3 separate regions of the Homo sapiens genome follow, and all the other regions are linked to region 1. The links are contacts of gene promoters, found by promoter capture Hi-C in blood cells and fetal thymus (Javierre and others, 2016). All regions are on one chromosome and are shown on one strand. Each heading gives the region's core, a stretch centred on a gene start or on the middle of the fragment in contact. The rest is flanking DNA. Distances are from core to core; before and after follow the strand shown.

Region 1 (3,041 bases), core at 312-2,811:
TGGAAGATGACAAAGCAGGAATCATTACACACATTTTACTGAAGGGGAAGAGAGGACATGAGACATCACAGGCTCAGTAACTGGCTTGGCCTGGTTTGGAACTGATGTCCTTTTAACCACAAAGCCCCCATTTTTCCAGGCTCTCCAACGTGCCCACAGGAGGTCACCTTCCCAGGCTCTGGATTTGACAGTAACCAATGTTCTAGTTTTTCTTGTCAATGGGCATGTTCAGGGCAACATTGCCCAAATGTGAACTGAGCCCACCTGTCTAGGGTTTTCTCCAAAGGTGAAGACAAATAGCCGCCACCAATTCCAATTTGCTTTTTGCCATTCCTAATACTTGGCATTTAGGTAATCTCCCTCTCCTACTCTTCATTTAAATGTTTACATTCTCCCAAAGTACCTCAAATGGTGTAATCTGGAGAAAAATAAGTGGCTTAAGATCACGGGGGCTTTGTGAGTTGGGTACTATTACTTCCGTTTTACAGATGAGGAAACTGAGGCCCGGAAAGGATATGTAGTCTGCCTAGTGCCCTGCTTGAGGAACCAAAATCAGCATGGGAACTGACTCCTAAGCAGGTGCGCGGTTCATGCTGCTGGAAGAAATATAAACAAATTAGAACAGAGAGTAAGGAAACGTAACATTACTTTAGGAATAGATTGGGTCCCTGAGACCTCGTCATCAGAGAAGACTTCAGAATCCAAGTTTTAAATAGCATTCTAGTGTTTACCAAGCACACAACATTTTGCAAAGAAAGCTGAAATTTTTACTTGGGGGTAAAAGGCTCAGGAACAACTGGTTTTGCGGCCAAAGGCTTTAAATGAAAAGCTAAGCGTTGGCCAGCTCAGGTTTTATCTTGCATTGATCGTAATCTGCAAGGAAGCTAAGAAGCTGGCCGGCCCCGCGCCTGGAGGGTAGGTGGAGAGCGGCTGGGTCCTGGCCAAGAAGCTGGAAGGCAGGCTCATTCCAGGGGCCGCAGCCCCCGGGAAGAAGCAGGGGGCTGGCCGCGCTGTGGCCCTGCGGGGTCGAGGAGTCTGGTAGCGGACAGGTTTCCAGCCTTGTACAAGCCACCGGCAGCCCGAGAGAAGTCAGTCGGACTCCCATCGAACCCGGGGCGCACGCCAGAGGGCCGGACGCAGCGAGTCCTTCTGCCCCGCTTCAGCACGTGTCCCATTTCGGTTATCTCATTGGCTCTATTCAGCCCCTCTCTGCTCCGCTTTGGAAGGCTGCCGCAGGACCGCCCCGCTGATTGGTTCAGAAGCTTTGGTGTGTCACTCTGACTGGTCGACAGAGTTCACGCCCTCTCTCCCGGGTCATACCATAAAGAGAGGAGGGGAAAACGCATGCATTTCAGGACTTCGCTTTCGGGTTCCCTTGTCCTGTGTTGTGTAATGCCCCCGTTATGGCACTAGAAATATTTTTTATTAGCCGAAGCTAAATATAGTGGGACTTTGGCTGATCCCGAGCTCGGAGGACAGCCGGGGTGATCCGTTTCCCCCCGAGGATCGAGGTGGTGCGCTCTGGACGGGGTTGTGCATTCTCGCCGCGCCCGGGCGGACGATCCAGCGAACAGCCCCGCTTCTAACCCGAGATGCTGCTGCCGGCGCCCGCGCTCCGCCGCGCCCTGCTGTCCCGCCCCTGGACCGGGGCCGGGTGAGTGAGCACGGGGCCCGGGGCGGCCCGAGCGCGCGCCTGGGGCCCGGGAGCCTGAGAGTCACTGGGCGTCCCCCGCGCCGCACTCCCTCCCTGCCGGACCCCCAAGCTGCCTCGGTCAACGCCGGGTTCCTCAGGGGCTCCCCTCCGACCCCCACCCAGGCCTTTCTCCCACTGAGATCCCTTAGCCTCCTCCCTCAGGTAGTCACCTTCCTTTAGCGAGGGGACCCCTCTTCCCGAATCCTGCGACCGAGTAGGGTGCCTCGGTGGCCCTGCCGGTTCCCACGCTCGGAAAGTAGCCTCTGTAGTCACTCACCTCACTCCTAATACTGGATCTTCGCAATTTGCTGGCTTCCCCTGAGGGGCCCTTCTATTTTTAGCACACCACACATCTCACTTCCCCACCCTCGTCTCACGTTCAGTGTCCCCATCCCGCCCCGGATTCCCCGAGTCCTCTCCTTCTACCAGGATTTCTACCTCTCTCTTTTCCGCTCCCCACACACCCCGCCGCCCGTTTTTTTTTTTTTTTTTCAAGTTAAATGTTGGACAGAAAAAAGGATTCCTTTCTTCTTGTAGGTGGAATAATCATATTTATAGAGTGCTTATAATGAACCAAATGCTGGCCGGGCAATTGGCAGGTGTCTTATGAGGATTAAATGAGTTAATACATGGGGAGTGCACTGAACAGTGCCCAGCACAAAGGCAGCGCCCGGTTATTATTATTGCCACGATCATCATCATTATCACCTCTATTTAAACTTCTCACTCCTGTGAGGCAGGTCATTATTCCAAATAATGAAGAAACCCAGGAGCAGTTCAGGGGTGGACCTGCCCTTCAAATCCCGATTTGCAAACCTGACATTGTGGAGCCAGGTGCCTGGACCCTTGCCCACTCAATGACAAATATTCTCAGAGCCCCTCCAGCTCGGAGCTAGGTTTGGAGAGGTAGGTGGGACACAGACCCTGCCCCAGAGGGGTTCCTAGTCTGGTGGGGCTGCCCACCTGTGGATCAGCCCCCCCTCCCATTTGAGGTTTGTTTGCTTGACCCCTGGGGCTGTTAGTGGCAGTGTCTTTCCTGATGAGCTGTGCCCTTTCTGAGTTAATCAGTGGCCCTCTCCCTTCCCCCAAGGGATGGCATGGTGGTGCTCTGAGCACAAGTGAGTTGCAACACTGCTGTGTGTCCTCTGTGGGTGAAGAGGGGATAGGAAAGGGCGCAGGAAGAGGACATGGGACAGAGGGGTTCCTCTTCTAGGCTGAGACTGGGGCCACACTTGCCATACTCCCTGTGTGATCCCGTTTGCAGGCCTTCCCTGCACTCTGAGACTCAGGAAGATGGAGCTTATAGAGTCCTGTGTTTACTGAGTGCCTACTGTGAGCTGGTGCTCTG
Region 2 (3,041 bases), core at 270-2,769, 690 kb before region 1:
TCCTGCCACCTGCCAACCCCGACCACCTCCTCCGGGCTGCAACTCCACCCCGCACCCGGGCTGCTGCTCCGGCTCCTCGGGTCTGTGCCCGCCGCCCGAGTGACCTCCCGCCGGGGCCCGGGCGGCTCGCCCTGGCCGGAGGGGCCGGAAAAGGCCGAGAGGCCTGACCTCCCGTGGGGCTTCCCTTCCTTCCTCCTGGGCAGCGCAGCCTGGAGCCAGCAGCTCTGCACCGGCCGGGCCTGCTGGGGCGAAAAGCCCCTTACCTATCTTCACGACCGCATCCGCCAGACACCGGTCCCACTTCCTGCCGAGCTCCGACTCAGACATGTTCCCCACCCGCGCCTCCAGCTTTCCTCTCGGCCGGCCCCCGCGCTCCGACCCCTGAAAGTCTCGCGAGAGCTGGAAACAAGTCCCAGGTCAGGAAGGCAGGCGCAGACGCTCCAGATATCGCGAGATGATCCGCTGCTTCCATCCCTTCCGGTTTTTTCAGTTGGTCGTCAAGGTGACGAGTTGTCTGGAGGCTCGAGGTGACCCTGACCTTGGGGCTGCGCCTATGGGTTTGCGAGGCTGACAGTTTCCTAGGCGTCACCCCAAGCCGTGACCAGGCCTTTCCTCCTCACCAAAGTGCGACATTGGCCCTGGAAATCCCCCGGGCAAGAGAGGGTACAGACTTGATTTATTCATTCATTAACGTACTCACCTTCACTTTCCCTACTCACTCTCTCATTCGTTCACTGGTTTCTTGCATTGGAATTCCCGCCTGAACCACTAACACCGAAACTGCTCTGGGAAAGATTACCTACCGCCAAATCAAATGGACTCTTTTCTGACCTCTGTACCGCATTCCACACAATTTTCCCTCCCTCTGATCCTCCCTGGCTCCTCTATTCGTTTCACTCCCGGTAACGCCACTCTTTCCTCTTCTCCCCATCTGCTGTTGTCTGTTGGTTTCCTCCAGGGCTGCCTTTTCTCTGCCAGCTGTTTAAGGACTGTTGGTTCGCAAGCTTCCATCAATTCTCTTTTCACTGTACAGACTCTCCCTGAGTAATTGCAAACACTGCCAAATTATATCTCCAGGTAAAACGTCTACCTCAGGCCTCCTATCCATGTATATATTTACACACCCACCCACACACACACACACATACACATACATACACAGGGTGCCCTCTGTATCTGTGGGTTTTGCATCCATGGATTTAACCAACCATGGACCAGAAACATTTTTGAATCAAATAAAAAATAATGCAAAATTTAAAATACAGTACAACTATTTACCTAGGATTTACATTGTATTAGGTATTATAAGTAACCTAGAGATGATTTAAAGTATATGGGAGCCAGCGCAGTGGCATGCGACCGTAGTCCCAGCTACTTGGGAGGCTGAGATGGGAGGATTGCTTGAGACTAGGAGTTCGACTTCATCTCTTTAAAAAAAAATAAGTAATTTTAAAAAAGGATATGTAAGCATGTGTGTAGGTTGTATGCAAATACCACGCCATTTTATATATGGGACTTGAGCATCCTGCATTTTGGTAACTGCGAGATCCTGAAACCAAATGCCCACAGCTATCAAGAGAGATTGTATATCCAGCCTACTGGCTAGTGTCATTGATTTTAGTCTTCCATCCTACCAACAAATAGAAATCTGACCACGTTATGCCTCTGATTAGAAGCTGTCAATGAAGGCCGAGAGCAGTGGCTCACACCTGTAATCCCAACACTCTGGGAGGCTGAGGCGGGAGGATTGTTTGAGGCCAGTAGTTCAAGACCAGCCTAGGCAGCATAGTGAGACTCCTGTCTCTACAAAAAATTTAAAAAATTAGCCAGGCTAATGTGATGTGTGCCTTTAGTCCCAGCTACTTAGGAGGCTGAGGTAGGAGGATCACTTGAGCCTGGGAAGTGGAGGCTACACTGAGCCATGTTCATGCCACTGCACTCCAGCCTGGGCATCAGAGTGATACCCTATCACAAAAGAAAAAAAAAAAAAGCTGTCAATGACTCCCATTCATACACTGGATCTATCCAAGCTTCAACACTGCACTGATTCTAGGAAGCCTAGTCAGATAGAGCTTAGAGCTGCCTTCCCCTTCTCATTGTCCCACTACCCTGCCTACCCGCATTGATTTCTCTATCTAGTACTGAAACATCTGGTTGTAGATATTATCTGCTAGTAGAACTAGAAGTTGCCCCTTCGTCTTCATACTTCCAGTCAGAGCACAATGCCTTGGATAGTAGGGTCTTCTATGAAATATTTGTTGAACTGAATTGAATTTATTCACCTATTTATTTGTTTATTTATTTATTGAGAGAGAGTCGCGCTCTGTTGCCCAGGCTGGAGTGCAGTGGCACGATCTCGGCTCACTGCAACCTCTGCCTACTGGGTTTGAGCAATTCTTCTGCCTCAGCCTCCAAAATAGCTGGGATTACAGGCGCCCACCACCACGCCTGGCTAACTTTTTGTATTTTTTTAGTAGAGATGGGGTTTCGCCATATTGGCCAGGCTGGTCTTGACTCCTGGCCTCAAGTGATCCACCCACCTTGGCCTCCCAAAGTGCTGGGATTACAGGCATCGTTCAACTATTTATTTGCAACTATGACAGCAAAACTCTGTTGTATCAGATCTTGCTACGACAGCCTCTTCCTTCAAGATAACTTCTATGACCACCCTTCCCTTCTCCTAGTTCTCTATTTTTTTAAATTATTCTTTCTTTTTTTTTTTTTTTTTGAGACAGAGTCTTGCTCTGTCACCCAGGCTGGAGTGCAGTGGCATGATCTTGGCTCACTGCAACCTCTGCCTCCCAGGTTCAAGAGATTCTCCTGTCTCAGCCACCTGAGTAGTTGGGATTACAAGCACGTGCCACCACCCCCAGCTAATTTTTGTATTTTTAGTAGAGATGGGGTTTCACCATGTTGGCCAAGCTGGTCTTGAACTCCTGACCTCAGGTGAACCACCCACCTCAGCCTCCCAAAGTGCTGGGATTACAGGCTTGAGCCATCATGCCCAGCCCTATTTTTCCTATTCTTTAAATTTTTCTTTG
Region 3 (3,041 bases), core at 396-2,895, 580 kb before region 1:
TGGGACGGGTGGCTTCCCGGGGTGGGGGAGGGGCGGGGTCCCGGACCCTGGGTGGACCCGGTCCCTCCCCGCCCAGGAGGGTGCCGCCGGCGCGGACGACTTGGGTGGCAGTGACCCTGCCCCCGCTCCCAGCCCCCGCCCTTGGCGCAAGCTGGAGTCCCACTCACTACCTCTGTGTTCAGGCTGGTCTCTCCCATAGCCCAGGCTAGACCCTCCCTCCCGAACCGTGTCCCCAGCCAGGCACCCCCTCGGTGACCCTGGCGTGGGCCCCCTTCCTCCCCCGGTCTAGGGCTAGGTCTGCTTTCCCCCGTCTCTCCGGCCCAGGCTAGGCCGTCGTTTCTCCCTGCCATGGCCCAGGCTAGGCCGCTGCCTCCCTCTGTCCCTCCCCCTTTGCCTTCTCCATGGCCTCAGGCTGGACCCCGGTCAGCCCCTTCTGCAGCGGCCTAGGTTTGCTTCCCCTCTTCTCCGTGGCCTCAGCCTGAATCTCCTCTTCTCTCTGTGAACTTAAATCTGGACCTCCTCTTCTCCGCCCATGGCCCCCGTCTGGACCTCACTGCCCCCTCCCCACCATGATCCCCTTCCCTGGACTTTTCGCCACTCCTAGCGTAACCTGCGTCAGCCCCGCTCGGTCCCCGCCCTGAGCCTCTCATCAGGGTCCTGCCCCCTGCCTGGTGCACGACCCAGGGTCCCCTTCCCTGTACCTGGGGCGCGCCTTCTTTGCAGCCTTTGGGGAGCGAGGGGAGCTCTCCATCAGGGATGGGGTGGTCCCGGTGCTGTGCCTTCTCAGTTGCCGCTTCTAGGGAGGCCGCCTAGGAGCCAGCGAGGGAAGGGCGGGCATCGGTGTGCCCAGAAGGCAGCGCGCTGCTCTGCGGGCCCTTCTCGAGGCTGCCGCCGTGGGTGCTGTGCGTGCGAAGCATTCTGCAGGGCAGGCCGGGGTCCACGGCGCCCGGGCCTGAGTGGGAGCCGAGGGGCGAGGATGGGTGGCCCACAGGACAAGGATGAACGCACAATCGCCCTTGTGAGGCCGTGGCCTTGGGGGGCCACCAGGCCCTGGATCCAGCATATGGCCTGGACACGATGCACCCAAGCAGGCGCAGCCTCCCCTTCCCTCTGAACTGTCAGCTTGCAAGGGTTGGAACTGCTGATTATGGAAGTCCCTCGGATCAGGTGAGCAGAACGCCTAGGGAGAGTGCTGGCTCCGCTCGTGGTGTTTGTTTTGGTAAAGAAGGCAGATGCTATCCAGACTTTTGAGGAACCTGGGGTTTCACATAGGCCCCCACAGATAGACCTGCCCTCCTGCCACTTGACCCTTCTGCAGGACAGGCCCAGCACTTAGGTTGGAAGGGCCAGAGAACTTCTTCCTGACAGGATCAAGGGATTTTTGGAGCATGTTTGTATGTGGACTTTGGGCCTCAAAGTGTTTTGAGGACCATGGTTCCTTGTTTAGTCAAGGGATGTTGCTGCTGAACGAGGGTGAGTAGTTGAGATGGGTTAAGCTTTCTTTTGATGCCTTCCTGTATGCTGATTAAAAACATGGGCAATGCCACTTTTAAGGCCTTCGGATTTGTCCAGTAACTTTGGCTGAAAACTCCTTGTTTGGGGAGGTGGGCCTGGCCCCAGGCCTTGATGGAGAACGACTTCTCCAGGGCAGTGGTGGGTGAGGACTTTGAAAGTGGGCTGAAGTTTCCTGAGTGTGCACTCAGGACAAAGTATAAGGCAGGAAGCAGCGATTCTCGCCAGGTGATGGGAAAGTGCCTCAGTCCCCCAGGAGGAGCACATGACACCTGAAGCTTCTCAGGAGTCTTGTACTCAGCTCTCATCTGAAAAGGCTGGAAAGGGTGGAGGAACTGTCTGCCAGTCACTGTGGTGTGCTTCACCTGTACAAGCTGTTTTCATCCACAGGAAGCCCTTCTGGGGCTGTCCCCATTTTATAGATGAGGCAGCTGAGGCTCAGGAGGTGGAGTGACTTATTCAGGGTGTTGCTCAGCCAGTGGAGGAACCACTGTTGGTCAGTGGAAGCCCATCTGGCAGGCTCTAAACTGTTCTTCCCATTGTACCAAGCTGCTTGTATGTCAGAAGGTTTAATGATACCGTTTGAAAAACATAAAATGGGATATTCAAACATGGCAAGGGGGGAGGAGCAGTATTTATTGCCCATGTATTGTATTTTAGATCCTTTGTATAGGAAATCATGTTTATAGTGAAATAGCTGTATGGTGATACAGGCATATTTAGCATGGGCCAGAATGAGCTCTTGGAGGGCAGAGATTTGTGTCTTGTGTTTTCCGCAGCTGTATCCGTGGGGCCTAGAACAGCACCTGGCGTTGGAAGAAACCACTTGGAATGTTCTCTTTGGCATGTGTCTGTGTCCATGAACTTACCTGCTTGGATTTCATATTCATTCTCTCAGTCACTTGTTCTTAGTATCCCTTAGCCTTGTAATTTCTGACTGCTTATTGTTACGTTTATCCCCTATTTGAATACTCTGACCATTAAGCCGGTGTAGATGGTTGGCGTAGGACAGAAGTGGTGGTGTGAGGTTGCATTGTAGGTAAATGAATTCAGATCACCATGTTTTTCATTTTCAGTAGATTTGATGGTAGAGAATACAGCTAGATCTCTGTTATCCATTGAGGGAAATAGTGACTTGAGAATCTAAAATGCATTTGACTTTGGAATGAATTCCATGATTTTTGTTGGCATGAGTTTCTCCTTCCCAGTTAAAATGCATAGGCAAATGGAATTTATTTGCATTCCCTTAGCAGGTAATAATCTTACCACTGTCTGAGTGCTGTACAATTTCAGAGCACCGTTCCTTACACAGCTTCAGTTTCTGACTTGGGAATTATTCTTAGTTATGATGATGGTGAGGCTTTAGCAGGAACGGGGACTAGGGAGGCCCCCTCAGGAATTGCTGCTCCAGCTCACAGATGGTTTTGCCTGGCAGGAGCTGATGGGAACTTGGTATTGTTACAAGGTGAAACAACATAGTTGACATTAATGTCTCTTGATGTGGATAAGACACATTGTTCAACTCACAT

Evidence for each region. Contacts are between HindIII fragments. The CHiCAGO score rates a contact against its expected background, and 5 or more counts as called.
Region 2: a fragment that was not itself captured here is called in contact with the fragment with the promoter of ALDH4A1 in region 1 in 6 of 17 cell types (fetal thymus, erythroblasts, activated CD4 T cells and 3 more); the score reaches 18.3 in fetal thymus.
Region 3: a fragment that was not itself captured here is called in contact with the fragment with the promoter of ALDH4A1 in region 1 in 1 of 17 cell types (fetal thymus); the score reaches 13.1 in fetal thymus.

Annotation. Positions count from the first base shown.
Region 1 is chr1:18,901,075-18,904,115 of GRCh38, reverse strand. ALDH4A1 (aldehyde dehydrogenase 4 family member A1) reads left to right here and starts at 1,561. Exons shown (of 15, transcript NM_003748.4): 1 at 1,561-1,654. The coding sequence starts at 1,593. It overlaps LOC124903866 (a long non-coding RNA gene), which reads right to left and starts at 2,003. Exons shown (of 2, transcript XR_007065519.1): 1 at 1,864-2,003; 2 at 745-1,306. RefSeq lists enhancers at 508-1,325, 1,265-1,494 and a silencer at 1,575-1,794. The HindIII fragment of the contact is 9,883 bases long and covers 1,265-3,041 here.
Region 2 is chr1:19,594,332-19,597,372 of GRCh38, reverse strand. MICOS10-NBL1 (MICOS10-NBL1 readthrough) reads right to left here and starts at 394. Exons shown (of 4, transcript NM_001204089.2): 1 at 264-394. It overlaps MICOS10 (mitochondrial contact site and cristae organizing system subunit 10), which reads right to left and starts at 394. Exons shown (of 4, transcript NM_001032363.4): 1 at 264-394. The coding sequence starts at 327. It overlaps MICOS10-DT (MICOS10 divergent transcript), which reads left to right and starts at 541. Exons shown (of 2, transcript NR_135054.1): 1 at 541-663. RefSeq lists a silencer at 1-181 and an enhancer at 302-601. The HindIII fragment of the contact is 1,026 bases long and covers 1,007-2,032 here.
Region 3 is chr1:19,482,316-19,485,356 of GRCh38, reverse strand. All of the region lies in intron 1 of CAPZB (capping actin protein of muscle Z-line subunit beta), which reads left to right. It also overlaps a transcript of LOC105376819 not described here. Among named protein-coding and RNA genes, the nearest start is that of CAPZB, 1.7 kb to the left of the region's middle. RefSeq lists a silencer at 2-111 and enhancers at 16-524, 525-1,032, 1,033-1,541. The HindIII fragment of the contact is 294 bases long and covers 1,499-1,792 here.